Linked DNA regions of Homo sapiens: region 1 is linked to region 2. The links are contacts of gene promoters, found by promoter capture Hi-C in human tissues and cell types (Jung and others, 2019). All regions are on one chromosome and are shown on one strand. The core of a region is centred on a gene start or on the middle of the fragment in contact, and the rest is flanking DNA. Distances in the headings are between cores, read along the strand shown.

Region 1 (6,382 bases), core at 717-3,216, 720 kb after region 2:
ATTGAAAAAAATATTCCATTTTCATGGATTGGAAGAATCCATATCGTTAAAATGTCCATCCTATGCAAAGCAATCTACAGAATCAATGAAGTCCCTATCAACATACCAGTGATATTCTTCACAGAAATAGAAACAATAATCCTAAAACTTTCTGATGGAATCAGAAAACACCCAGAATAGCCAAAGCCATTCTGAGCAGAATAAAACTGAAGGAATTACATAACCTGACTTAAAATTATACTACAGAGCTATGGTAACCAAAGCAGCATGGTAACTGGCATAAAAAAAAGACACATGGACCAGTGCAACAGAATAGAGAGGACAGAAATAAATGCATACCTCTACAGGGAACTCACTTCAACAAAAATACCAAGAACATGCATTGGTGAAAAGACAGTGTCTTCAATTAATGGTGCTGTGAAAATTGGATATCCATATTTAGAAGAATGAAACTAGACCCCTGTCTCTCATCACACACAAAAAATCAAATGCATTAAAGACCTAAATCTAAGATGTCAAACTATGAATCTACTGAAAGAGAACATTTGGGAAACTTCAGAACATTGGTCTGGGCAAAGATTTATTGAGTAATACCCCTGAAGCACAAACCAGAGCAAAAATAGACAAATAGAATCATGTCAAACTCCAAAGCTTCTACACAGCAAAGGAGACAATCAACAAAGTGAGGAGATAACCCACAGAATGGGAGAAAATATTTGCAAACTATCCATCTGACAAGAGATTAATAACCAGAATATATAAGGAGATCAAACCACTCAATAGGAAAAAAAATCTAATAATCTGATTTTAAAATGGGCAAAATATCTCAATAGACATTTCTCAAAAGAAGAAATGGCAAACAGGCACACAGTGGCACACAAATGGCAAATAGGTATATAGAAAGGTGCTCAACATCATTGATCATGAAGGAAATGCAAATCAAAACTACAATGAGATAACATCTCACCCCACTAGAAAGCGCTTTGATACAAAAGACAAGCAACAACAAATGCTGGCAAGGATATAGAGAAAAGGGAACCCTCATACACTGTTGTTGGGAATGTAAATAAGTACAACCACTATGGAGAACAGCATGGAGCTTCCTCAGAAAACTAAAAAAGAACTGCCGTATGATCCAGCAATCCCCCTTTAACAGTCTTTGCTCCTGTACCCCATCAGGAGAGGCAGATGCTATAGCCAAGTATCATGAAGAGGTGGCTGAGCAGTTTGAGAAAAGCAGCATATTTCTCTATATCCTGTCAGTTCCAGCTGCTATTATGCACAATTATATGATGGATCTAGTGTGGAAAGATGTTAAAGAGAGCATTTGGGTATTTATCCAAAGGAATGGAAATCAGTATGTCCAAGAGAGATTGGTACTTCCAAGTTTACTGCGGCACTATTCACAATAACCAATATTTGGAAGCAAGCTATGTGACCATCAACAGGCAAACAGATAAAGAAGATGTGAGATATACACACACACATATATATACACACACACACCCCCACAATGGAGCACTATTCAACCATAGAAAAGAATGAGATACTGTCATTTGCAACAACATTGAAGGAACTAGAGGTCATTATGTCAAGGGAAATAAGCCAGGCACAGAAAGACTTCTCATTCATTTGTGGGAGCTAAAAATTAAAACAATGAAACTCATGAACATAGAGAATTGAATGAAGGTTACCAGAGGTTGGGAAGGGTAATGGGGGTTGGGGATAAGTGAGGATGGTTAATGGGTAAAAAATATATCGTTAGATAAAATGAATAAGATCTACTACTTGATAGCAGAACAGTGTGACTACAGTCAACAATATTTTATTGTACATTTAAAAATAAAACAGTGTAATCGGAATGTTTGTAACTCAAAGAAATGATAAATGTTTGAGGTGATGAATACCCATTTACCCTGATATAATTATTATGCATTGATTGTATGCCTCTGTCAAAATATCTCATGTATTTTATAAATATATACCTACTATGCCTCATACAAATAATTTTAAAAAGAAAACTACATGAGTACCACAAGAGGTCACTTTCACTATGAAACATGATTTGCTGGCAAGACGAACTGCATCTGTGGAGATGATGAGCATCATTTGGCGTTTTAAGTGGATACCTGCAACACTTGAGTTCACTGCAATAGCAACAGGAGGTGGCTATGAGATCATTACAATAGTGCAGTATGTACTAGATCTAATTGTATGCAGTTATGATTTATTTATTTTTTATTTTTAAAAGATATATACTTCATTTTTTAGAGCCTTTATAGATTCCGAGAACAGAAATCTCGAAGGCTGTAGTGTCCTTCTCCAGAAGAATGTGCATGGCAGCCTTTAACAGTCCTTGCTCCTATATCCTGTCAGGAGAGGCAGAAGCTACAGCCAAGTGTCATGAAAGGTGGCTCAGCAGTTTGAGAAAAGCAGGATATTTTCATATATTCTGTCAGTTCCAGCTGCTAATCACAATTATATGATGGATCCAGTGTGCAAAGACATTAAAGAGAGCATTGGGAATTTGGGGAGGATGGAGCCAGAAATGGAGCTGATTTCAATAACAACAGGAAAAACAGCTTGTGAAGATTTGACTACTGGCAAATATTGATACAGGAACATTCCAGAGCCAGTTGGTTTCATCCAGGCTCTCACAACCGCAGCCAAAGGAAGGGAAAATGTCATATTTGTTGAAATAGTCTCTAAGAGAGCCCTCCAGAGAAACATGAGAGAAGTCATAGGTAAAGAAACTTAATTTTCTCTTCTCTACAACCAAATAAAGAGTACGAGACTCTTTTTGACCTGGTACAAACTCTATTTGAATCTGGACACAACCTTAACTGGCCATGCTTTTATGAAGGTTTGAAAATAACTCCAACAGTTTACCTAAGGTATCAGTTTGATCACAAGAGTCTTCTGCTGCAGAACAAAATAGCTTACTCCAGTCATCCTCTCACTAGTATTGCAAGTGACAACATAGATTTCAGTTGCTTCAGAACTCGGGATACAGCACCCCATGTTTTTGAGCACAAAACAATGGAACTACTTAGGTTCCTTGTTCCTGTTTTGTGGAGCCTGGTTTGGCTTGTGTGATGGACAGTTTAAAACCCAGAGCACCTCTGAGTACATATCAGGTAAGAGTTGCTTTTTTAGCTCCCCGTGTGGTAAGCCAAAAATTTTTAGATATAAAGATGCAGTTGGAATCAGGAGAAAGAGGGAAATCAGGAGAAATAGGGAAATCACGGCTGCGTGTGGTTTTCGTTTTGGGGGCTCATGAAGCGGCCTGGGCCCTGTGACTCCTCCAGGGATTCCACATCCCAGGTGCTGCGGGACCTGCGGGGGCGAGAAAGCTGGGCCGGTGACAGGAGGGCGCAACCCACCCCATCCCCCAGGGAAAGGGCTTCTCCCAGTTCCCCACCCTCCCAGCCCCCGCCCGGCCCATTACCTCTTCTTCTTGTCTCTCTTGTCCAAGCCAGGGTCCCTGAGCATGAGAATGAGCTCCACTCTGGGGACTATGCCCCTCCAGGCAGCTCTGTGGAGATCGCCAAGATCTTCCAGGCAGACGTCGTACCCAGGCTCCAGGAAGGCGCTGTCATTGTGCTCGGCTCCACAGCCCACGCCGTCCTCGCTGCTCCTCCTTATTCAATTATTAAAACTAGTGAATAAATTCAGCAAAGTTACAGCACAAAATGTCAACACATGGTAATCTGTTGTATTTCTAGACACTAGCAACAAACATCAGAATGTAATGATGAAAACGATTCCAGGCTGGAGGTGGTGGCTCATGCCTGTAATCCCAGCACTTTGAGAGGCTGAGGTTGGAGGCTTGCTTGAACCCAGGAGTTTGAGGCCAGTCTGGGCAACTCAAGGAAACCTGTCTCTACAAATAATTTAAAAATTAGCTGAGTGTGGTGGGTCATGTCTGTAGTCCTAGTTACTCGGGAGACAGAAGAGGGAGGATTGCTGGAACCTGGGAGGTTGAGGCTGCAGTAAGCCGTGTTCACACCACTGCACTCCAACCTGGGCAACAGAGTGAATCCCTGCCTCAAAAAAAAAAAAAAAAAAGACAGAAAAGAAAAAAAATCCATTTTTAAAAATCAACAGGCCAGACGTGGTGGCACACACCCATCATCTCAATGCTCTGGGAGGCCAAGAGGGGAGTATCACTTGAGGCCAGGAGTTCAAGCCAGCCTGGGCAAGATAGCAAGACTCCACCTCTACAAAAAAATAAAAAAATTAGGCAGGTGTGGTGGTGCATACCTGTAGTCCCAGCTACTTGGTAGGCTGAGGCAGGAGGATCACTTGAGCCCAGGAGATAGAGGCTGCAGTGAGCCATAATCGTGCCACTGTACTCCAGCCTGGGAGACAGAGTGAGTCTCCCTGCCAAAAAAAAAAGATCATAGAAGTATGGGTTTATTTCTGGACTCAACATTCAGTTCCATTGATCTATACATGTGTCCTTATGCCAGCATCATGCTGTTTTTATTGCTGTTGCTTTGTAGTAAGATTTGAAATTTGGAAATGTGAGCCTCTGAGTTGGTCATTTTTTTGACATTATTTTGGCTATTCTGGATCCCTTGAAATTTCATGTAAATGTTAGGATCAGCTTGTGGATTTCTGCCAAAAGGACTTTGGGATTTTAACAGGAATTGCAATAAATTTGTAGATTGCTTTGTGTAGTACTGCCATCTTAAAAATTAGTGTCTTCTAGTTTATGAACATGAAGTGTCTTTCCATTTATTTATGCTTTCTTGAATTTATTTCAGCAATGTTTTGACATTTTCCATGTTCAAGTCTGGTACCTTGGTTAAATTTATTCCTAAGAATATTAGTACTGCTGATTGGTTTTTGAGAGAGCCTCACACTGTTGCCCAGGCTGGAATGCAGTGCCACGATCCTAGCTCTGCAGCCTCAATCTCCTGGGCTCAAAAGATGCACCCACCTCAGCCTCCAGAGTAACTGGAACTACACATGCGTGCCACCACAACCAGCTAATTGTTAAAAATATTTTTGTAGGGACAGTGTCTGGCTATGTTGCCCAGCTTTCATTATACAATGTTTAAAAATTCTAAAATTTTTGCCATGAATTACTGTGATAGTTAAGTCTAGGTGTCAACATGACTGGATTAAGGGATACACAGAGAGCTGCTAAAGCACTATGTCTAGGTATGTCTGTGAGGGTGTTTTCGGAAGAGGTGTCATACTGGTGTGACATATCATGACATATTGTAATACTGATATGACACCCGTAAGACCGATATGATGCCCACAATACTGACATGACAGCCATAGACTCATATAACACCTGCAATACACATGTGACACCCCAATACAAATGTGATACCGCAATACAGATGTGACACCAACAAGACTACTGTGACACCAATAAGACTGCTGTGACACCCATAAGACTGATGTGACACCCACAATACTGATGTGACGATGTGATGCCCACAATACAGATGACACCTGCAAGAGGGCTATGATGCCCATAAGACTCATGTGACGCCCGCAATACAGATATGACACCCATAAGACTCATGTGACACCCACAAGATTCATATGACACTCCTAAGACTCATATGACACCCATAATACTGATATGATGCCCGTAAGACTGATGTGATGCCTGCAATACTGATGACACCTGTAAGACTGATATGACACCCCCAATACTGATATGACACCCGCAATACTGATATGACACCCGCAATACAGATATGACACCCCCAATACAGATATGACACCGACAATACAGATATGACACCCACAATACTGATATGACACCCGCAATACAGATGTGACACCCGCAATACAGATGTGACACCCGCAATACAGATGTGACACCCGCAATACTGATATGACACCGCAATACACATATGACACCCGCAATACAGATATGACACCCGCAATACAGATATGACACCCGCAATACTGATATGACACCCGCAATACAGATATGACACCCACAATACAGATATGACACCCGCAATACAGATATGACACCCTCAATACTGCTATGACCCCCGCAATACAGATATGACCCCCGCAATACTGCTATGACACCCGCAATACTGATATGACACCCGCAATACAGATATGACACCCACAATACTGATATGACACCCGCAATACAGATATGACATGCACAATACTGATATGACATCTACAATACAGATATGACACCCACAATACTCATATGACACCCGCAATACTGATATGACATCTACAATATAGATATGACACCCACAATACTGATATGACACCCGCAATACAGATATGACATCTACAATACTGATATGACACCTGCAATACTGACATGACACCCGCAATACAGATATGACATCTACAATACTGATATGACACCTGCAATACTGAC
Region 2 (6,032 bases), core at 2,105-4,604:
GAGCAACCAAGTTGAGGCCGGGTGCGGTGGCTCACGCCTGTAACCTCAGCACTTTGGGAGGCAGAGGCGGGCAGATCACAAGAGGTCAGGAGTTCGAGACCAGCCTGGCCAACATGGTGAAACCCCATTTCTACTAAAAATACAAACAATAGCTGGGTGTGCTGGCTTATGCCTGTAGTCCCAGCTACTCAGGAGGCTGAGGCAGGAGAATCATTTGTACCCGGGAGGCAGAGGTTGCAGTGAGCTGAGATGGTGCCAGTGCACTCCAGCCTGGGTTACAGAGTGAGACTCTGTCTCAAAAAAAAAAAAAAAAAAGTAACCAAGTTGAAGTAACTTGAATTTGTTTCTAATTAAAAAGATTTTTTTGAGGAGACTGAAAATTTACAGTTTGGAGATCCAGAGATAATGGAAATTGTGTCTATAGAGGGACAGTAACTTGAAATAAGGCTCCCCGGTATTCACTAATTAATTCAACAAATATTTCTTGGAACAACTGCTATGAGCTGGGTATAGTATGGCTAGATACTATTCAGAATCATGTTAGATTTTACCCTACTTGCAAGCTAACAAGCTCATCTAACAGCTCCACAAATGATGGCAGAAAACACCTGAGTCAGAGAGAAAGGGCTTTATTTTTCACAGCACAGCCAGTAGCCTGGGCTTCATATTCCCTTCGGTTCCCCTTTCCCTTCCAAGTCCCATGGGGACAGTCCAGGTGGATGCTGCACATGTGATTGGTTTTACCGCCCAGGTACACCAAGTTTAGGAAAGCCCAGTCTTGAACAGTGAACTGCAAGCCAACATGCTCAGCCTTTGCCCCAGAAGGTGACACTCTCTTTATTAAACTGAACAGCAACAAACCTGTCTTTTGTTCCAGAAGCAGACAATTATCTTAATCTTCCAAAGCTGTTCCTTGAAAGGGTATATTAATCAGAATTCCCTACAGAAACAGATCCAATAGGATGCATATTGCAGAGAGAGATTTATTTGAAGGAATTGGCTCAATCAATTGGAGGCTGGTGTTAGATATGAGTTCTAAATTTCTCTTCGAAGAATCAATGTCAGTATGTTCAATTCTTTGTCTTCTACTTTTAAACTTAACTTCTGGCCAGATGCGGTGGCTCACACCTGTAATCCCAGGAGGCCGAGGCGGGAAGATCATGAAGTCAGGAGATGGAGGCCATCCTAACACGGTGAAATCCATCTCTACTAAAAATACAAAAAATAAGCCGGGTGTGGTGGCGGGCACCTGTAGTCCCAGCTACTCGGGAGGCTTAGGCAGGAGAATGGAGCAAACCCAGGAGGCAGAGCTTGCAGTGAGCCGAGATGCCGCCACTGCACTCCAGTCTAGGCTATAGAGCGAGACTCTGTCTCAATTAAAAAAAACAAAACAAAACAAAAAAAGCTTAACTTCCTCGTAAAGCAATCTTTTTCAACTACCTGCTCCACCCTGACTCATTCTGATTACCTGCTCTGCCCTGACTCATTCTCCACCCTGACTCATTCCGATTTCCTGCTCTGCCATAACTATTTTTCCCACCAAACCACTTACCCGGTCACTCTCTTTAAATTAGTCAATCAGAATTAGTTTAGCCTGTGCCGTCTAACCTTAGCCAACAGGGGAAGGACACAGCAGCAGGTGCCACAAGCGTCAGGAATAAAAACCCCTTCGCCTCCCTTGTCCAGGTGTGTGCTCACCATTGCTCCATCTGTGAGGGCGCACCCTTCTATAGAAGTAAATTGCCTTGCTGAGAAGGAAAAAAGAAAATTTTATAGTTGAGTGCTATTTCTTTTGCGGCACCAAAACTTTATTTATAATGCTGGCAAGCCTAAAATTTGTAGGTCAAGTTAGAGACCCAGGAAAGAGCTGAAGGCAGTCTGGGGGCAGGATTCCTTCTTCCTCAGAGGACCTTAGTCTTTTCTCTTATGACCTTCCCTTGACGGGATGAGGCCAACCCACCTTGTGGAGGACCAACTGCTTTACTCAAGTCTAATTTAACTGTTAATCACATCTTAAAAAATACCAGCTATCATAGTACTCCAGAACAAAGGCAGTCAGTGTCTCTGCTCACAAAACACGGGAAAGTGCAGGTGACCCATGGAGAATTGTCCCCCAACACTATGTTTTTTCTTTTTTTGGATGGAGTTTCGCTCTTGTCACCCAGGCTGGAGTGCAATACCACCATCTTGGCTCACTGCAACCTCTACCTCCTGGGTTCAAGAGATTCTCCTGCCTTAGCCTCCTGAGTAGCTGGGATTTATTACAGGCGCCTGCCACCTCGCCGGGCTAATTTTTGTATTTTTAGTAGAGACAGGGTTTCACCACGTTGGCCAGGCTGGTCTCCAACTCCTCACCTCAGGTGATCCGCCAGCCTCAGCCTCCCAAAGTGCTGGGATTATAGGCATGAGCCACTGCGCCCGGCCAACACTACTTATTTTATAAAAACTCATTAATTACTGGTGTCTTTAGACTCCCTCTGTCCCTCCCCTCCATCCCCAACATTTACTTTTAAAATTTAAGACAAAACTTAAACATTAAACAATTATGAATTTAATTCCCCCATTTATATTACATTGATTAAGCTTTACACTATGACCCAGGTTCTAGGTGGTTGGGACACAATGGTTCAATCCCTGTCTAGTAAATAAAACGGACACCTTAAGCGCTACAATCAAGGTGCGCACGGGGTGCTACAGAACAATACGCAGACAGGAGGAGGTGGGGGGAAAGGTGAGACTTCCCAGGCAGGTGTCATCCCAGAATAACTTTTACACAGGGTGACTAAGCGAGTTAGTGACTGCGCGGAAAACGGGCTTCCAAGGTTCACAAGGCTCGTGCTGCGGCTCCGGGAGTTATGTCACAGTAAGCTTACTATCATCCTTTGGGCATCTGCTTTACGGATGAGTTCATCAGGATTTAAAGGATCTTGGTTCCATATCCTTCCCCTTCCTCACAGAGGCCGCCAGCCCGGAGCCCCTCTAGGCCCTCCTCCCTCCTGCATCTACTGGCCGCGAGCCTTTCCCTCCCCGCCCCCTTCACACAGGCCGCCCCCAGCCTCCCAACCCCCCGGTTCCGTTCCACGGGAGGCCCCGGCCTCCCTGCCCTCTCCTCCACCGTTCTACCCGCATCGCCCGGCTTCCCGCAAGCCGCTGGCACCGTCCCCTCAACACCCTCCGCCCACCGCCACTCCCTTCCACTGAGGGGGACCGGGCTGCCTTCTCTCTGACCCGCCGTTCTCCGCCCCCACCCACTTCCCCAGGCCTCCCGCACCACCCCCTTCCCGCCGCGCTCTCTCCCGCCCCCGCGCTTCCGGCCCCGCCCGCCCCCGCGCGGAGGACTGTGGGAGCGGCTTCCTTGGATTCCGCGCTTGGCAACGGCTCGGCGTCGCGCTTTGGCCAACCGCTGCGTCGTCCCTGGGCCCGAATAACTGTCGCCCGCTTCCCTCAGCGTGAGGTAGGAGAAGGGCGCTGGGGCCTAGTGCCTCAGGGCCCCTGGCAGCCGTGCCCCTGCGGCGTCCTGTGTGGCGCATCCCGCCGAGGGCCTCTTCGCCCGTCTCCTGCCCGCCCCTGTCGGCCCCGGGGCGGTCTGAGGCGGGGCCCCAGATGGACTCGGCCTGCCCCTGCTTTTCTTCCTCAGGCTCCCGAGTTGTCTACTCAGAAACGCGGGCGTTGTTTCTCACATCGGTGTCCCCAGCTCACAGGCTTTTCTTGCTCCTCTGAACTGGGACGGGCGTCGCTGACCGCTTGGCGATGTCCCAAGTCCCAGTCACGCCTGACGGGGAAACTTAAAACCCAGTTAGATTACTGCGCCAGCTCTGGAATCGCACAGCAGAGATGGTGCACATCGCTCTTTAATTTTCTTGTTAGGTGAAGCACTTCAAATTGCCTGATGAAAGTTGAATCAGGAATGAAGATAAAAGTACACAACAATGCAGAAAGCGGTACTTAGCCTCACAAAGATGGAAACATTCCAAAAACGTGAAGTACTGTTGTCCCAAGATTCTTTCTAAGCCTAAAATTACACTTTTACTAGTCCGATTTTCTGGTTGTGAGTTTTTTTTGTTTGTTTTTTTTTTTTCGAGAAACTGCAGTAGGCTTCTTGGAAGTAGACCAAGGGTGTCCAATCTTTGGCTTCCCTGGGCCACATCGGAAGAAGAATTGTCTTGGGCCACACATGAAATTCACAAACACTAAGGTAGCCGATGAGCTTTAAAAAAAATCGCAAAAAAGAATCTCATAATGCTTCCAGAAAGTTTACGAATTTGTGTTGGGCCACATTCAAAGCCGTCCTGTGCCACGTGCGGGCCGGGGTTGGAAAAGCTTGAAGTAGACTGTCCATAGTCAGTAGAAGAGTATTAAAAAACATACCTTTCACTTAAAAAAAAAAAAGGTTTTGCCAGCATTTGATTTATATTAAACATAGGTGGCATCATCCCCAGATTATTTCAACATGGAAAAGTTTGTTACATGTATAAGCTGCTTTGGAAATTGCCTGGAGAATCCAGAAACCCTGGGTTGTATAACAACAGTTGTTCTGCCACCCATAGCTATTAGCCATGCTTGATTCCCTTCAACTTTCCTGGCCTCACTTTCCACATCTTTTAATATTTGTATGTTCCACAAGATGTCTATTCAACTAAAGTCTCAAGTCAAACCTTTTAAAAATCTGGTTACAACCTAGCAGAAAGGATTTCTCATTCTAAAAGTTGCTTCCTTCTATAACTTATGTGTCAACTAAGCTGACTTAAATAGGGTTCATAATCAGAAATTATGGTTCAGAATAGTGGTTCTCAAAGTGGTCCCCAGACCAGTAGCCTCAGCATCACTTGGGTTTAAGAACCACTGGTTTAGTATTATCTGAGCTAAAGCTTTTAATTAAAAATATTTTATATATCTTTTACCAGTGACTTTTAATACCTTTTTTTTTCTTTTTGAGACGGAGTCGCACGCTCTGTTGCCCAGGCTGGAGTGCAGTGGCGGCAATCTCGGTTTACTGCAAGCTCCGCCTCCCGGGTTCATGCCATTCTCCTGCCTCAGCCTCCCGAGTAGCTGGGACTACAGGCGCCCGCCACCATGCCCAGCTAATTTTTTGTATTTTTAGTAGAGACGGGGTTTCACCGTGTTAGCCAGGATGGTCTCGATCTCCTGACCTCGTGATCCGCCCGCCTCGGCCTCCCAGAGTGTTGGGATTACAAGCGTGAGCCACGACGCCTGGCCCTTTTAATAACCTTTTGAAGCTATTTTGGAATGCCATTTCTATGTGGGTGACATTTGCCCTCATAGTAGTTAATTTTCATCTTCAAAAAGTAATGAGAAATTAACTCAAAATGGATCAATGACCTAAATATAAGAGCTAAAACTGTTAGAAAAAAAGCATAGGTATAAATATTCTTGACCTTAGATTAGGCAGTTCTTTCTTAGATATGATACCAAAAGTACGTGCAACCAAAGGAAAAATAAATTGTATATCATCAAAATTTAAAACTTTTGGCCAGGCGTGGTGGCTCACGCCTGTAATCCCAGCACTTTGGGAGGCCGAGCCGGGCGGATCACGAGGTCAGGAGATCGAGACCATCCTGGCTAACACGGTGAAACCCCGTCTCTACTAAAAATACAAAAAATTAGCCGGGCGTGGTGGCGGGCGCCTGTAGTCCCAGCTGCTGGAGAGGCTGAGGCAGGAGAATGGCGTGAACTCGGGAGGCGGAGCTTTCAGTGAGCCGAGATCGCGCCACTGCACTCCAGCCTGGGTGACAGAGCGAGACTCCGTCCCAAAAAAAAAAAAAATTTTTTTAAACTTTTGTGCTTCAGAGGATAGTACAAAGAATGTAAAATGATGTACAGAATGGGAGAAAGTATTTGTAAATCATTTATATAATGTTTAGTATCAGGAATATATACAGGATCCTTATAATTCATGTGATAACCTGATTTTTGGGAATGAGCTGGCCGGGCGCGGTGGTTCACGCCTGTAATCCCAGCACTCTGGGAGGCCGAGGTGGGCGGATCACAAGGTCAGGAGATCGAGACCATAC

The links. The method cuts DNA at HindIII sites, captures the fragments that hold promoters and counts their contacts. A contact is called where the count stands out against the background at its distance.
Region 1: a fragment that was not itself captured here is called in contact with the fragment with the promoter of IFT88 in region 2 in 1 of the 25 tissues and cell types used here (dorsolateral prefrontal cortex).

What each region holds. Positions count from the first base shown.
Region 1 is chr13:21,284,187-21,290,568 of GRCh38, forward strand. All of the region lies in intron 3 of LOC105370105 (a long non-coding RNA gene), which reads left to right. It overlaps LOC101928764 (coiled-coil domain-containing protein 144B), which reads right to left. Exons shown (of 6, transcript NR_172129.1): 5 at 3,449-3,640; 6 at 1-3,336. Among named protein-coding and RNA genes, the nearest start is that of LINC01046, 53 kb to the left of the region's middle. The HindIII fragment of the contact is 4,447 bases long and covers 1-4,190 here.
Region 2 is chr13:20,563,803-20,569,834 of GRCh38, forward strand. IFT88 (intraflagellar transport 88) reads left to right here and starts at 3,355. Exons shown (of 26, transcript NM_006531.5): 1 at 3,355-3,454. LOC105370103 (a long non-coding RNA gene) reads right to left here and starts at 3,227. Exons shown (of 6, transcript XR_941725.3): 1 at 2,874-3,227; 2 at 1,699-1,748. RefSeq lists silencers at 3,055-3,464, 3,560-3,748. The HindIII fragment of the contact is 1,600 bases long and covers 1,995-3,594 here.